Regions from separate parts of the Homo sapiens genome. Here region 2 is linked to region 1. Evidence: promoter capture Hi-C in human tissues and cell types (Jung and others, 2019). All regions are on one chromosome and are shown on one strand. Each heading gives the region's core, a stretch centred on a gene start or on the middle of the fragment in contact. The rest is flanking DNA. Distances are from core to core; before and after follow the strand shown. Region 1 holds the start of TMC7 (transmembrane channel like 7). Region 2 holds the start of LOC105371114 (a long non-coding RNA gene).

Region 1 (3,199 bases), core at 191-2,690:
GTCTCTTCTAAATTTTTTTTTTCTTCTGGACATTGGGAACAATCCAATTTGAAGGCCTCAATGACCAAATCTACACTCATGTTTTATTCTATATCCTTGGTTTCTTTTTTTTTTTTTGAAACAGTCTTGGTCTGTCGCCCAGGCTGGAGTGCAGTGGCGCAATCTCGGCTCACTGCAACCTCCGCCTCCCGGGTTCAAGCTATTCTCTGCCTCAGCCTCCCAAGTAGCTGGGATTACAAGCACCCACCACCACTCCTGGCTAATTTTTGTATCTTCAGTAGAGATGGGGTTTCACCATCTTGGCCAGGCTGGTCTTGAACTCCTGACCTCGTGATCCACCCGCCTCAGCCTCCCAAAGTGCTGGGATTACAGGCGTGAGCCACCACGCCCGGCCCTACATCCTTGGTTTCAGTAAATCTCTATTCTAAAACTGAAAAAGAGAAAACATTGCAGATAAAACTTTACAGCAGGGTCTTGTGTTTTGTTCAGGACAAGATTCGTAAGCTCCAAATGCTACAAGGAACCCTGCCTGAGTGCTGGCAACTTTTTTATCCTGACTGGGCAGCCGTTGTACATATTTCTGTAGAAATTCATGGAGCTGTATACTTTACTGTAATTCTACCCGATACAAAAGATTATAATACTTGGCTGGCTACCATTTATTGTGACTGTCTAGCCACAATGCCAGGCACTGTGCTAGACACATCACACGATTCTCAGCTAATCCCCGCCCCATTCTATTCCCATTTTACTGCTGAAGGATCTGAGGCTCAGAGAAGGCAAGCCACTTACCAAAGGTCCCACAGCAATAAACAGACAAGGCAGAATTCGGTTTCAAGTTGGTCTAACTGTATGTGAAGGCTGAAATGTCCGGGAGGCAGGCACCTCATACCAGAATGTTAGGCGTGGAGGGGGTGCTCAAATCCTTTCATTTAACAGCAGATGAGGCTATTGAAAGACTGTCTCGGTCAACAGCTGGAAGACAAACCCACCACGGTCCAGACTGCAGTTCTCGTGTCCTTTTGGCCCGGCTGGGTTCCACTGGATTGGATGAGGACGCGTTTGTGGAGGGAGCAGGAATAAGGAAGATCTCCTTCCCACCTGCTGTTCCCCAGAGCCGGGAGCACCCGGCGTCGGGGGTGGGAGGGAACAGCGGCCAGGCCGAGCCTCCAGCACCCGGCTCCCTCCGTGCGCCCTCGGACCCCAGGGGCACCGTCCCCGCGCGCGCTCCCTGCCGCCCTACCTGGATGGACCGCCGGCTGCCGGCTGGGCCTGCCGGGCTGGAGCGCACTGCCGCTGGACTCGCTCATGGCCGCGCCCCGCGCTCCTCAGAGGCTGCCGAGGACCCTCTCCAGCCGCCGCCGCCGCCGCCGCCTCCCCGGCCTTCCCTCGCGGAGCCGGGATTCCAGGTTCCGGCGCTGACATCACAGAAGCCGGAGTGGGGCGCCCCCGCGAGGAGCCGAGCATCAGGGACCGCAGAGGGGCTGCAGAGCCCGGGAGATCCGGCAAGGCTCCATCCAGCGGTGGCGACAAGCAGCGACCTCCCTGATGTCTCACTGAGCTTAAAAAATAACAATAGATTGGGCGCACTGGGAGCCCAGTCTCCACCAGGACCCGGTACACCCATGTAACAAACATGCACATGGACCCCCTGCATCTAAAATCAAACCTGATCTAATAAAGAAATAAATAACAAAAATAACTGGTTGGGAGTGGTGGCTCACGTCTGTAATCCTCGCATTTTGGGAGTCCGAGGCTGGAGGACCGCACGAACTCACAAGTTTGAGACCAACCTGGCCAACACAGTGAGACCCCCATCTTTAAAATTAAAAAATAAAAAGTCCACACGCAAAAAACCCCAAGACTCCAAATCAGTGCATCTAGTAAGTTACCATTTGGGAACAAAAAGGAAACCAAAAAATATATTTGTACATGCTTGTAAATGCCTAAGCTATCTCCCTAGAGGGTGCAAAAAACTGGCTACCTGTGGTAGCTCTGGGTGGGGAGCTAGAGGGCCGAGTGAAGAGAAAACCACGTGCAGTGTTTGTCTTTTACGTTTTGCACTATATCCTCGTTTCATCTCTACCTCTGTTCGTGTGCAGGTTAAAAACATAAAATTGCCAGGCGCAGTGGCTCACACCTGTAATCTCACCACTTTGAGAGGCCGAGGCGGGAGGATCACCTGAGGTCAGGAGTTCGAGACTATCCTGGCCAACACGGTGAAACCCTGTCTCTACTAAAAATACAAAATTAGCCTGGCATGGTAGTGCATGCCTGTAGTCCCAGCTACCAGGGAGGCTGAGGCAGGAGAATCGCTGGAACCCAGGAGGCAGAGGTTGCAGTGAGCCGAGATCACGCCACTGCACTCCAGCCTGGGCGACAGAAGGAGACTCCATCTCAGAAAAAAAAAGAAAAAGAAAAGTAATTGCTAAATATAAATAAATGGGGAAAATGGAGAGAAATCTCCTGTGCAGATTTTGAAATCATTTACGTAGATACTTTAAGGATGGGGAGCTTAGCTCCCTACTCCTTAAGTGTGAGTTGCCCATAGCGACATCCTTCCAAAAGAGTGCAGTATGGAAGTGGTGGTGGAAGAGGGTGAGGGTGGGTTTTATATTAGATAATACCTGACAAACACTGTCTCAGACAGATGATCAAAGTTAACATCATCCGGGATCAGTGGCTCACACCTGTAATCCCAGCACTTTGGGAGGCCGAGGCAGGTGGATCACTTGAGGTCAGGAGTTCGAGACCAGCCTGGCCAACATGGCGAAACCCTGTCTCTACCAAAAATACAAAAAAATTAGCTGGGCATGGTGGCGGGCGCCTGTAATCCCAGCTACTAGGGAGGCTGAGGCAGGAGAATCTCTTGAACCCAGGAGGCGGAGGTTGCAGTGAGTCGAGATTGCACTACTGCACTCCAGCCTGGGCAACAGAGTAAGACTCCATCTCAAAAAAAAAAAGTAAATAAGTAAATAAGTTAACATCAACATTAAGCCATGAGGATGGTGTGCACCCTTCCTACGATGGGATGAGAAGGGCACTTTACCTCTGTGGTCATAAGAAAAATATCAGACAAATTCAACTGAGGGGCATTCTACAGAATACCTGATTAGTATTCCTCAAAACTGTCAAGGTCATTTAAAAAAAAAAAAAAAGGAGGCTGGAGACTGGGTGTGGTGGCTCATGCCTGTAATCC
Region 2 (3,030 bases), core at 285-2,784, 410 kb before region 1:
ATCACTTTCCTTCCATCTGCCTGGGGCCGGCAGCAGGATGTTTAAATTATGATAAACAAAGTTGGATGACTTGTGTCCCTGCAAATAATGGATCAAAAGCCCCTATTCATGCAATCAGTGGAAGAACATTTCAATCTTTGGACACTATTAAATACCTTGAGCACGGCTATGTTATGACACATCGCCAGATTAATAAATATAAACCTAATAAGAAGCCCTGCCCTAGGAAGGCCACTAAATGGTCTGGAAAGCTAGAGGTGCTAACCTGGGAAGATTGTATTGCAAACAGCACTGCTGTACTGCAAAGTAATTCCTATGGAATCGTCATTGATTGGGCCCCTATGGGACGCTTTGCAGTAAATTGTACTGGACAGTGCGAAGATGGTAGAGAGACTCCTTTTGCAAACAACTACCCAGATAATGCACCAAAATTATATAGAAGAATTAAAACAAATTAACCTATTAAGTGGGAGGAGAACGGTATGGCTCTTTCAAGCCCAAAAATGATTGATCCAATTATAAGTCCAGAACATCTAGAATTGTGGAAATTAATGATGGCTCAAACCCCAATTCGGATTTGGAAAGGAGAATATAAAACAAAGACCCTTAGTAAAAAAAACTTTGATTTGTCGTAGCCATGACCTCTAATCAGACATTCCCATTGCAGAGTTTTGTTAAACCTCCTTTTATGTTGGCAGTGGGAAAAATTAATATCCTAACTGACTCTCAAACCATATCATGCCTCAACTGTCATCTTTTTACCTGCATTAATTCTACCTTTAATAAAGATAATAGCATTTTACCGGTTAGGGCCCAAGGAGTTTGAATAACTGTTTCCCTCAATAGACCTTGGGAGGCCTCTCCCTCCATACATATTATCACGGAAGTACTAAAAGGAATACTTAATAGATCAAAGAGATTCATATTTACTTTAATAGCTGTGATCATGGGCCTTATAGCTGTCACAGCTACTGCTGCTGCTGCTGGTGTTGCTTTGCACTCTTCTATTCAAACAGCGGGCTTTGTGGATAGTTGGCAGAAAAATTCTTCTAAGCTTTGGAATTCCCAAAGCCAAATAGGTCAAAAATTGGCAAATCAAATTAATGATCTCTGTCAAACAGTAATTTGGATGGGAGATTGGATTATGAGCTTGGAGCATAGAATTCAAAAACAATGTGACTGGAATACTTCCGATTTTTGTTTTACTCCTAGCTCTTATAATGCCATTGAACACCAGTGAGAGACGATTAGACGTCACCTACAAGGAAAAAAAGATAATTTAACATTAGATATTGCTAAACTGAAAAAACAAGTTTTTGAGGCATCTCAGGCTCATCTCACCCTATTGCCTGGAGCTGATATTCTTGCTGGAGCCTCTGATGGCCTTTCTAATACCAATCCTTTAAAGTGGATTGAAACCATAGGTGGATCAACAATTGCAAATTTTATTTTGGTTTGTGTCTGTTTATGTTGCTTGTTTTTAGTCTACAGATGCAGATGGTGCCTTGGGAGAGAAACCAGACACCATGAATGAGCCATAATAGCAATGGCAGTTATTAATAAAAAAAAATCAATAGAGGCAAAAAAGGGGAACATGTGGGAAAGTGTTTCTGGGGTGCCAGTTGAGTTGGTCTCCCCTGTGTGAGACACCCATGGGAAGCCATGGGCAGCCTCTGGGGAGAAAAGTCTCCTTATTGCTTTCATGTCTTTATGCCCCAAGAGCATAACCACTCAGCAGCATTCCACAGGTTGCTCAGGGAGACAACACTCCCTTGAAGCAGTGGAGTATAATCAAACATCTTGGCTCCTCCTTAAACCCGCTCCCACCCATTTCAGTCCTGATAAGCTAAAGATCTTAAGTAGTTTAGACACACGCCTTTGCTCAAGGAAATTCACAGAAACCGCCACTGCTACACATCTTATGGAATGACTCACGAGTTCTCCTTCACTGATTAATCCTTTTCCTCATCCCTTCCTCCCCCTCCCATCTGCCCTAAGAACAAAGAGCTTGTAAACCAGTAAATTTGGCAGAGCTCAAGAGCTCTGGGCCGTGAGCAAGCCTCCGATATTCTGGTCCCCTGAACCCGCCTTTTAAATGCTTATTCTGTCTCTTTCTAACTCCTATGTCTCCACCAGACTCAGGGTACCCACTGGGTGGTGTGGGGCTGGTTTCCCTAACATTCCCCACCAAATAAAGCAGCTCCAACCTTCTAGATGGTTGCTCAGCTCAGAAGTCTTAGAGAAATTCTGATGCCTCTCCTCACATTTGCTCTGTCGGCAAATCCTGGTGTCACAAGAGGGCTCAGGAGGGTTTCTGGATGCCAACGAGACCCCAGCCACAGCCGGTCCCCAGATTCTTGACATCATCACAAGAAAGAATTCACAGGTGAGTCAGAATGAAGTGAAATGCAAGAAGCTTTTATTGGAAAGCAAAAGTCTGCACTTAAGAGAGAAGTGGGTGCATGCTCGTGAGAACGAGTCACGCAAACAGAGTTTGGGTTTCTAATTTTATTTGGTGTTTCTTTAATTAGGGGGTGGAATAATCATTAGGTATTCTGGAAAAGGAGGGGACTTCAGGGACCCCTGAAATTGCCCATGCTAGAGTGTTGTGGCACAATCCTAGCTCACTGCAACCTTGACCTCCTGGCCTTAAGTGATCCTCCTGCCTCAGCCTCCTGAGTAGCTGGGACTACAGACGTGCACCACTATGCCTGGCTAACTTCTAAAAATTTTTAGTAGAGACAGGGTCTCATTATGTTGCCTAGGCTGGTCTTGAACTCCTGGCCTCAAGTGATCCTCCCACCTTGGTGGGAGCCTGCAATTACAGGCATGAGCCACCACACCCGGCTTCTGCTTTATTATTTTCCAAAGCACTCGTCCCTGCCTGACACATTATAGATGCATGTGTGTCTTGTCTCTACAATGTGGGCTCCCAGAGGGCAGGGACTTTGCTCTGTTCTGTTGTCTGTTGTTGAATCCCCAGTGCCTAGGATGGTGCCTGGCACATAGTAGGTATTCAATATCTATTGA

The links. The method cuts DNA at HindIII sites, captures the fragments that hold promoters and counts their contacts. A contact is called where the count stands out against the background at its distance.
Region 2: a fragment that was not itself captured here is called in contact with the fragment with the promoter of TMC7 in region 1 in 2 of the 25 tissues and cell types used here (mesenchymal stem cells and ovary).

Annotation. Positions count from the first base shown.
Region 1 is chr16:18,982,175-18,985,373 of GRCh38, reverse strand. It overlaps TMC7 (transmembrane channel like 7), which reads right to left and starts at 1,440. Exons shown (of 16, transcript NM_024847.4): 1 at 1,244-1,440. The coding sequence starts at 1,310. RefSeq lists a silencer at 1,470-1,529. The HindIII fragment of the contact is 36,131 bases long and covers 1-3,199 here.
Region 2 is chr16:19,392,732-19,395,761 of GRCh38, reverse strand. LOC105371114 (a long non-coding RNA gene) reads left to right here and starts at 2,030. Exons shown (of 3, transcript NR_188657.1): 1 at 2,030-2,386. RefSeq lists an enhancer at 1,333-2,532. The HindIII fragment of the contact is 3,858 bases long and covers 1-3,030 here.